Regions from separate parts of the Homo sapiens genome. Here region 2 is linked to region 1. Evidence: promoter capture Hi-C in human tissues and cell types (Jung and others, 2019). All regions are on one chromosome and are shown on one strand. Each heading gives the region's core, a stretch centred on a gene start or on the middle of the fragment in contact. The rest is flanking DNA. Distances are from core to core; before and after follow the strand shown. Region 1 holds the start of C20orf141 (chromosome 20 open reading frame 141). Region 2 overlaps PTPRA (protein tyrosine phosphatase receptor type A).

Region 1 (4,072 bases), core at 261-2,760:
GGGGGCAGAGAGGGGGTGCAGGGGTCAGGAGGGCACCAGTGTGCGTGGGGTGGGGCTACAGAATTAGGGACTGGGACTTACCTCTGGGCAGTTACCTAAGTCATGTTGCTTCCTGCAGCGCCCAGGACGGCCTGGCAGGCAGATCCAAGTCCCCACTCTCATCTACCCCCACCCTCCCCAGAGGAGCCCCTTTGTGACCCGGGCTGGGGTGGGGTCCAGCCAAGAGAGGAGTCACTGTAGGGTGTGAGGCCCACCCAAGTCCCTCTGCACGGACCCTCCAGGCTGGCAGGGGAGCCTCGGAGCCCCGCAGATGTAGTTTCTCATGCTTTCTCATGGGAAGCCCTCCCTGGATCCCTGTCCCTTTCCTGCTTTCCCTGCTGGCTGATATCCACCCCTTTCCAAACTGCTCTCTCGCAAGTCTTTCTGTCTGGACCTTCATTCTCTAGAGCCACAGAGGAGGCCAGAGTGGCTGCCCCCAATCCACAGGCTCTGAGGTGGCTGCCACATTCTTCCTTGGGCTCCCTGGCTAGTATCCTACCTTCTCTTGCTGCCCAAAGACTCAGATCCAGGTATCTGATACCTATATTATAGGACTGTGAGGTTCAGGCTGGGAAGAAAGGGGTATCATCCCACCTGCCCAGCCAGGAAGGAGAAAAGGGGGCCTGATGAAGAAGGGTGGTCATTGTATATTTGAAGGACACTGAGTTGTGGGGAGGGGCTCTCAGGCCCAAGGATGGAGGCAGAAAGCCAGGCCAAGCAGGGTCAAGGGCATGCCACAGGCTCTCAGGAGCGGGCCCAGCCCCATGAGCAGCAGCAGCAGTGCGTCCTGGAGGCTAAGTTGTCCTGAGACTGTACCCATTTGCAGGAGTAGAGCCTCCTGCTGTCCAGGACCTTCACCGGCCCCCTGACTCTGGCCCCTGGTGAGAAGTTTGCGCTGTGGCAGAGTGTGACCTGCGGGCCTGTGGAGAGAGAGGGTGGTGACTGGGCTTAGGGAAGTTGTCCACTGGCCCGCCCGCCTACAATGCCCACCTGCCAGGCTGCTGCCCACTTACCTATGGAGCAGGTCAAAGGTGAGGAAGCTGACCAGAAGCAGCAGCAGGGCTGGGCCAGTGGTGGAAAAGACTGCCTGGATTGTCAGTCCTAGTGCCCCCAGCCATAGGACACTGTCCAGGAGCTGGGCCCAGCTAGGGCCCCAGGTGGATACAGGTGGACGCACTGGACTACCTGACCCCTCCCCAGCACCCAGGCCCCTTGGAGGAACTGGGATCGGATCCTCACGTGCTTCGGGTCTGGGTAAGCAGAGCCGGGTCATGGAGAGAGGTGGAGGTGACGGGAAGACCTAGTGCTGAAAAGGATTATAAGGGTGAGAGTAGGGGAAGGGGTAGGGCCCGGGCAGACAGAAGGGTGAGCTCAGAGTGGGGAATTAGGCTCCTGCAGAGTCTCCCCCTCCCCCATACCCACCCAGCAAACCCTCCTCACCTCCTCCCACTTTGGTCAGCATTCTGGGAGTGGGCACCCGGGGCATTGTGACCTGTTACCACGTGGGGCCGTGGGGTAGGGAGGGGGCTGCTGCTGCTGCTGCTCTGACCTCATAAGCAGCTGGTGGCCTAGGTGGGGCTTAGCTGGGAAGTCAGGGATTTCTGAGAACTAAGACTCATCCTCTTGCCTTTGCTGATTCTCTGCCCTAGGGCCCTCCCTTGGGGATCTGAGTTGTCAGGAAGGCATTCTAACCCCATTACTACTTGGGCATCTGTCCAAGGGAGCGAGGTCTGCTTTCTTCTTCCTGTGAGTTTGCAGAGCTGCAGGTCCAGGGCGAAGTCATTCAATATCTCTGTCCCCAGCTGTCTTCCCTGTGGGTCCTTCTAGGGGATTTTTCAGGCCTGAAGTTCCAGATTGCAGAGATGGGCTCTGCCAGGGGACTGCCTGAGGCTTCTGGGGCTGGGCTTCCGCATAACCTGCTAAATGGGGGTGAGAGAGGAGGGGGCTGTTCAGGTATTCTAAGCACTACAGTTTATAGGGGGTGTTATGCATACTGGGGTTCCAGTAATGAGGTAGAGGACATGAACTTAAGAGGACTATGACCTAGTAACCCCCTTATTAGAGGTTAAGGTTACAGTCTGAGAATGGAGTTAAGGAAAATGAACATATAATGAAGGGCTTAGTCACTTGGATTATCAGTATATCAGATTACACTGATCATCTGTAAATGGGTGGTGGCCATAGGGGTCCAGCACATCTCAGTTTAGTGACTTGAGAGGCAAGAGCGGAAATGTGTCATAATTAAGAGAACTTAATCTTTGCCCACATATCATACTTTGAAGGAAAACTGGTAGGGGTGGCAAAATGGGAGACAGTGGCCATACAGCCCCTAGGAGAGGAGGAGACAGAACAAGAATCAGGCTGCATATCCACCTCCAGCAGGCCTTGCCCAGAGACGAGGGTCACCAGCCCTAATGACCATGCACTGATCGCCCTTGGTCTGGCTGTTCTTGCTTATCCAGCAGCTGGGTTTTACGAGTAGATTTGTCCGTAATGGGATAGGGTATAACAGAAGATCCCAGAATTTTTTTTTTTTTGGCATTAAGTTCCAATTGTGCTTGTAAAGGAACATTAAGGTTTAAGATTGGCAATTCCCTGAGCCTGATCAATCCTGGATGCATCCACACAATTGCATTCCTGGACATACAGACCTGGGGAGCATGTCCTGATGAGTCCACCAAGATGAGGCTACTCCATATTGCAGGGCATGGGGGGATCGGAGAGTCTAAAGCTCCTTAAAGATTTACTATGCACCAGGTGCTCTGTATGCATGTATAGGAGAGTTCTGTCTGTGATTTTCTCAGAGTTTATTTTGTATTCAACAATCATTTATTTAAGTGCTTCCTATGTGCCAGGCACTGCACCAGATGGTGGGTGTATTAGGCCATTCTTGCGTTGCTATGAAGAAATACCTGAGACTGGGTAATTTATAAGAAAAGAGGCTTAATTGGCTTGCAGTTTTGCAGGCTGTACAGGAAGTAGGGTACCAGCATCTGCTTTTGGGGAGACCTCAGGAAACTTCCAATCATGGCAGAAGGCAAAGGGTGAAGAGCAAGGGAGAGAGTGGTGGTTAGGGGAGTTGCCACACACTTAAACAACCAGATCTTGAGAGAACTCACTCACTATTTCAAGGACAGCACCAAGCCATGAAATATCCACCCCCATGACCCAAACACCTCCCATCAGGCCCTACCTCCAACATTGGGATTTGAGATTTCAACTTGAGATTTGGACAAATATTCAGACTATATCAATGGGTCATAATTTCTAAAAGTAGAGCCTGAGATGGGGATACTTGTACACATGGTTTATTGAGGGAGTGCTCTGAGGAGGAAAACCTTTCTTTCTATTTTTTTTTTTTTTTTTTTTTGAGACAGAGTTTCGCTCTTGTTGCCCAGGCTGGAGTGCAATGGCGCCATCTTGGCTCACTGCAACCTCCGCCTCCCGGGTTTAAGTGATTCTCCTGCTTCAGCCTCCCAAGTAACTGAGATTACAGGCACCCACCACCACACCCAGCTAATTTTTGTATTTTTAGTAGAGACAGGGTTTCACCATGTCGGCCAGGCTGGTCTCAAACTCCTGACCTCAGGTGATGTGACCGCCTCAGCCTCCCAAAGTGCTGGGATTACAGGTGTGAGCCACCCTGCCCGACCAGAAGGGAAAGATTTTTAAAAATCAAGAGACTCTTCAGAATTGAAGGACATGATTCTCTAGACCATAACTTTCCACCAATTCACAGCCCAATACATGAAACAGGGCAGCTAACATCAAGGCATATAATGAAATTCACATTAGCAGGGATAAAAAGACAATCCTAAGAGCTTCCACCAAATAAAAACATCACATACATCGGATCTGAAGCAAGAATGGTATCACACTTCTAAACACCAATACTGGTAGCTAGAAGACAATAAATGCCCTCAAAATGATGTCTAATATAGAAATGTATAGGTCTGAATGATTATTAATTGGGAGGGTAGAATAATGACATTTCAATCATACAAGGTCTCAGAAATTTGACCTTGCATATACC
Region 2 (4,178 bases), core at 1,519-4,018, 93 kb before region 1:
ACAAAATATATTATATATAAAATATATATTATAATATATAAAATATATAATACATATTATATATAATGCATACCCTCCACTGTGCCTTATATATATATTATATATAATATACAATACATATTATATATCATATACAATATAGTATATATATCATATATCATATATACTATACGTCATATTATATATGACGTATAGTATATATGATGTTATATATCATATATACTATACATCATATATTATATATATGTTATATATCATATATACTATACATCATATATATTATATATGATATGATATATATTATATATGATATGATATATGATAGATTATATATGATATATGATAGATTATATATATGATATATGATAGATTATATATATATCATATATTATAATATATAATTACACATATTATATATAACAATATATAACATATATATGTCATATATTATATATTATAATTAATATATTTTAATTATATTATATAATATATATTATCTTATATTATATATATTATCTAATATATATTATCTTATATTATATATATTATCTAATATATATTATATTATCTTATAATATATATTATATATTATGTAATATATAATATATAATTTATATATAAGTGAAACGGAAAAATTATATGAAATTCAAACTTCTGCATCCATAAATAAGAAAGAATGTAGCTGCACTCATTCATTTACTATTGTCTGTGGCTGGCTTCAGACAATCTTTTGTAGTTTTCGTTTGTTTTGTTTTGGTTTTTTTTGGAGATGGAGTCTCACTCTCATCCAGGCTGGAGTGCAGTGGCATGATCTTGGCTCACTGCAACCTCCGCCTCCTGGGTTGAAGCAATTCTCCTGCCTCAGCCTCCCGAGTAGCTGGGATTATAGGTGTGAGCCACCACACCAACTAATTTCTGTATTTTTAGTAGAGACGTGGTTTCGCCATGTTGGCCCAGCTGGTCTCAAACTCCTGACCTCAGCCTCAGCCTCCCAAAGTGCTGGGATTTACAAGCATGAGCCACCGCACCAGGCCTGTTTTGTTTTGTTTTGTTTTTTGAGACAGGATTTCGCTCCATCACTCAGGCTAGAGTGCAGTGGTGCAATCACAGCTAACTGCAACCTCGACCTCCCAGACTCAAGGGATCTTCCCTCTCAATCTTTTGAAGGTTAAATAATGTACATTATACAGTCTGACACAGTGCCTTACACATAACTACTTAATAAATGGTACTTACATGTTATTATTCTGATCCTTGTTGAACTGCTTTTTGATGTGTTCTGGTTATCCATAATTGGTAATCAGCCACTGTACTGACTGGCAGAGTGGAGTGGCTTATATAGCTTTCCACTGCTGCTCAGTATCCCACAAATCACAGTCACAAAGTTATAACTCAACAGCATGTTTGGTGCCACACATGCATATTGTCATACTGTGACATTTTATTTTTTATTAATGCATAACTGTTATCAGTAACTAAAAGTCGTTATTATTTTGACATTTTATTAGTACATAACTATCATTAGTTATTAGTGCATAACCATCATGTCGAAACAAAAACAAATGCACTTTGAATGTCATGTTTTTCATTTTTTTTAATTTTGTATTTTTTTAAAACTAGAGATGGACTCTCACTATGTTGCCAAGGCTGGTCTTGAACTCCTGGGCTCAAGCAATCCTCCCACCCTGGCCTCCAAAAGTGCTGGGATTACAAGTGTGAGCCACCACACCCAGCCTGAATGTCATGCTTTTAAGGCACAGTGGAGGGTATGCATTATTTTATCAAGACAAGATAGGGAAGCATTTTGTTTATTATGCAATGACTCTACGGTCATCCCTTGGTATCTGTGGATCAACCGTGGATACCAAAATCTATGCACACTCAAGTCCCACAGTGGCCCAGAGGATACAAAAATTTCACTGTTCTGTATCTGGGGGTTTCCTCAAATAACGTATTTTTGATCCACGTTTGGTTGTATATGTATAAACTGCTGATTGTATTTATTGAAAAAAAATTCTCATATAATTGGACCTGTGCAGTTTGAAACTGCGTTGTTCAAGGAGTCAACTGTCTGTCTGTGCTAAAAGAATTCAAAATACATCAATGTTACCAAACTAAGGACCGATCACAGTATTTCCGATTCACAGGAAAGCAATGGTCAGAAAAATTTGAAAATTTAAAGTGGAATATTTCATTACAGCAAGGAGGGAAGGTAAGGAATAGAAAGTTTGTAAAGGAGGGAAGTTTCTAAGTAGCTCATTTGTTAGCAAAGCAAGAAAAGTAATATTCTAGTGATAAGTGAATTAAATCATGAAGAAGCTGAAGAAATGTATCCAGAGAAAATAAACTTGTTTAAGAGTATTAATTAGCCTTTCTCTAGGCTTTCTCCAGACAGGTAACAAAAAAATTATTTTTTAAATTTAATATAAGATAATTTAAAAAGAAAAAAAGACTATTAGCCTTTCAACAAAATCATTTGCTCTAAAAGTCGAAAATATTAGGAGCAAGATCAATAATCTGTTTAAAAAAAAAACCAAGGCAATTGAGGTTAAGTAGATTTCCATCTCTTTTGAATGAGTTTGATAGATGTTACAACACTGTTCAGATGTTTATTCAAGGAGTCAGTGCCAAGTTTAAAACAACTGAAGAATTAGCTTCTATGAATAGTCTGTGTTGAACAACTACAAACAAGAAGGTGAAAAAGTACTAATTCCATATAACCTAAAGTGGAATCTCAGATACGTTATCATTGATAATGGTAAAAATATGTGTGAAGCAGAAAAAGGCTTAGTTGGGTGATTTATAAAACGTGAAAATGTAAGGTGGTTATTCATGTTTTTTATCAATAGATATTCTATGAAAAATATCTGAATTTATCATGAATTATTAAACCAACCATGTTAATGGTGAATTTCATTCACTGCCATGGGCTTAACCATTGTCAGAAACAGAAGCTGAATAACCTGACTTGCCCAGGCACACAGCAGTTTGACGGCTGAGCTGTACTAAAGTTTTATCATGCTTTTTTTTTTTTCTTTTCAGCTTGGAACTGAGATTGAAATTTTTCACAACAATAAGACTGCTTTCAGACACTATGATCAAACAATAAATGGCTTTGAGAATTAGCTTTTGCTAATTTTATAATAGTAAATTCAACTTAAAATTACAGGACAGAACAACACTTATATATGAAACTTAAACTGTTGTTATTTAGACAACTAACTTTTGAATCATAAGCAACGTTGAGCTGCTTTATACACTTTACATGCTATCAAAAGTTAAAACAAGAAGTGAGATCTCCATTCCCAAACAAATTTGCAGTGGATATAGTTTCTTAGCTCACACTACATTTCCAGAATAATTTTTAGGACCTTAATGCACAAGGAAATATCTATATTTCAGTATCTATTTAACAGTGCAATTGTGGAGCTTCTGTCTAACCTTCCATTGGAAGTAATTAAGCAGCAATGAATAATATACTAAAAGGTAAATGTTATAAGAAAAACCTAATTCTATAAATGCTTCCTGAGTTATTAATATGCTCAATTAAAATCATATGTTTATGGGCTGGTATCAATTATTTGACATGTATGTGTGAAGACATGTCAAAGATGAAATATATAAAACCTCATTACAGACCTGCATTAATAGATAAATACTTGCAATCAATTTTGATGATTATTTATTGAATAGGAAGCACTAACTCTGAACTCCAATTAAGAAAATGTTATCACTCCGAAAAGAACTCCATTCTTCTCATTAGTATACCTGTATTTCAATAAATTGTGTTTATTATTTTGAATTTAATCAATTAAGAAATTTCTCAAAATTTGTTTTCTCTCTTGTTATATCAGAACGTACGTATTACCCTTGATTCTACTTCAGCCTGCAAAATCTAAAATATTTACTATCTGGCCCTTTATAGGAGGATCAGATAATTACTTCTTTGGAGAAAGGTTTTCTTCAGCCGAAGCATATAAAAGCTTGTCCTCTATCTCCTTCTGGGATTGGTAAAAACTTATCTAACACAAATAGGACTCAGGGCTGACTGGTTACATGAAAAAGTACAGTATATCAGGTAATTTTAAAAATGTAACTGAAATATTTGATTTTTACTCAAAACAAATACATGTCACCTGCCAATATTACGGTAAAAAACCAAGGCCTCTTCTTTAAGT

Evidence for each region. The method cuts DNA at HindIII sites, captures the fragments that hold promoters and counts their contacts. A contact is called where the count stands out against the background at its distance.
Region 2: a contact is called between a fragment that was not itself captured here and the fragment with the promoter of C20orf141 in region 1, in 2 of the 25 tissues and cell types used here (adrenal gland and mesenchymal stem cells).

What each region holds. Positions count from the first base shown.
Region 1 is chr20:2,812,425-2,816,496 of GRCh38, reverse strand. C20orf141 (chromosome 20 open reading frame 141) reads right to left here and starts at 1,510. Exons shown (of 3, transcript NM_001256538.2): 1 at 1,480-1,510; 2 at 1,053-1,345; 3 at 667-959. The coding sequence starts at 1,312. The coding sequence ends at 722. It overlaps TMEM239 (transmembrane protein 239), which reads right to left and starts at 133. Exons shown (of 2, transcript NM_001167670.3): 1 at 82-133. The HindIII fragment of the contact is 18,533 bases long and covers 1-4,072 here.
Region 2 is chr20:2,906,168-2,910,345 of GRCh38, reverse strand. All of the region lies in intron 1 of PTPRA (protein tyrosine phosphatase receptor type A), which reads right to left. Among named protein-coding and RNA genes, the nearest start is that of PTPRA, 35 kb to the right of the region's middle. The HindIII fragment of the contact is 8,451 bases long and covers 1-4,178 here.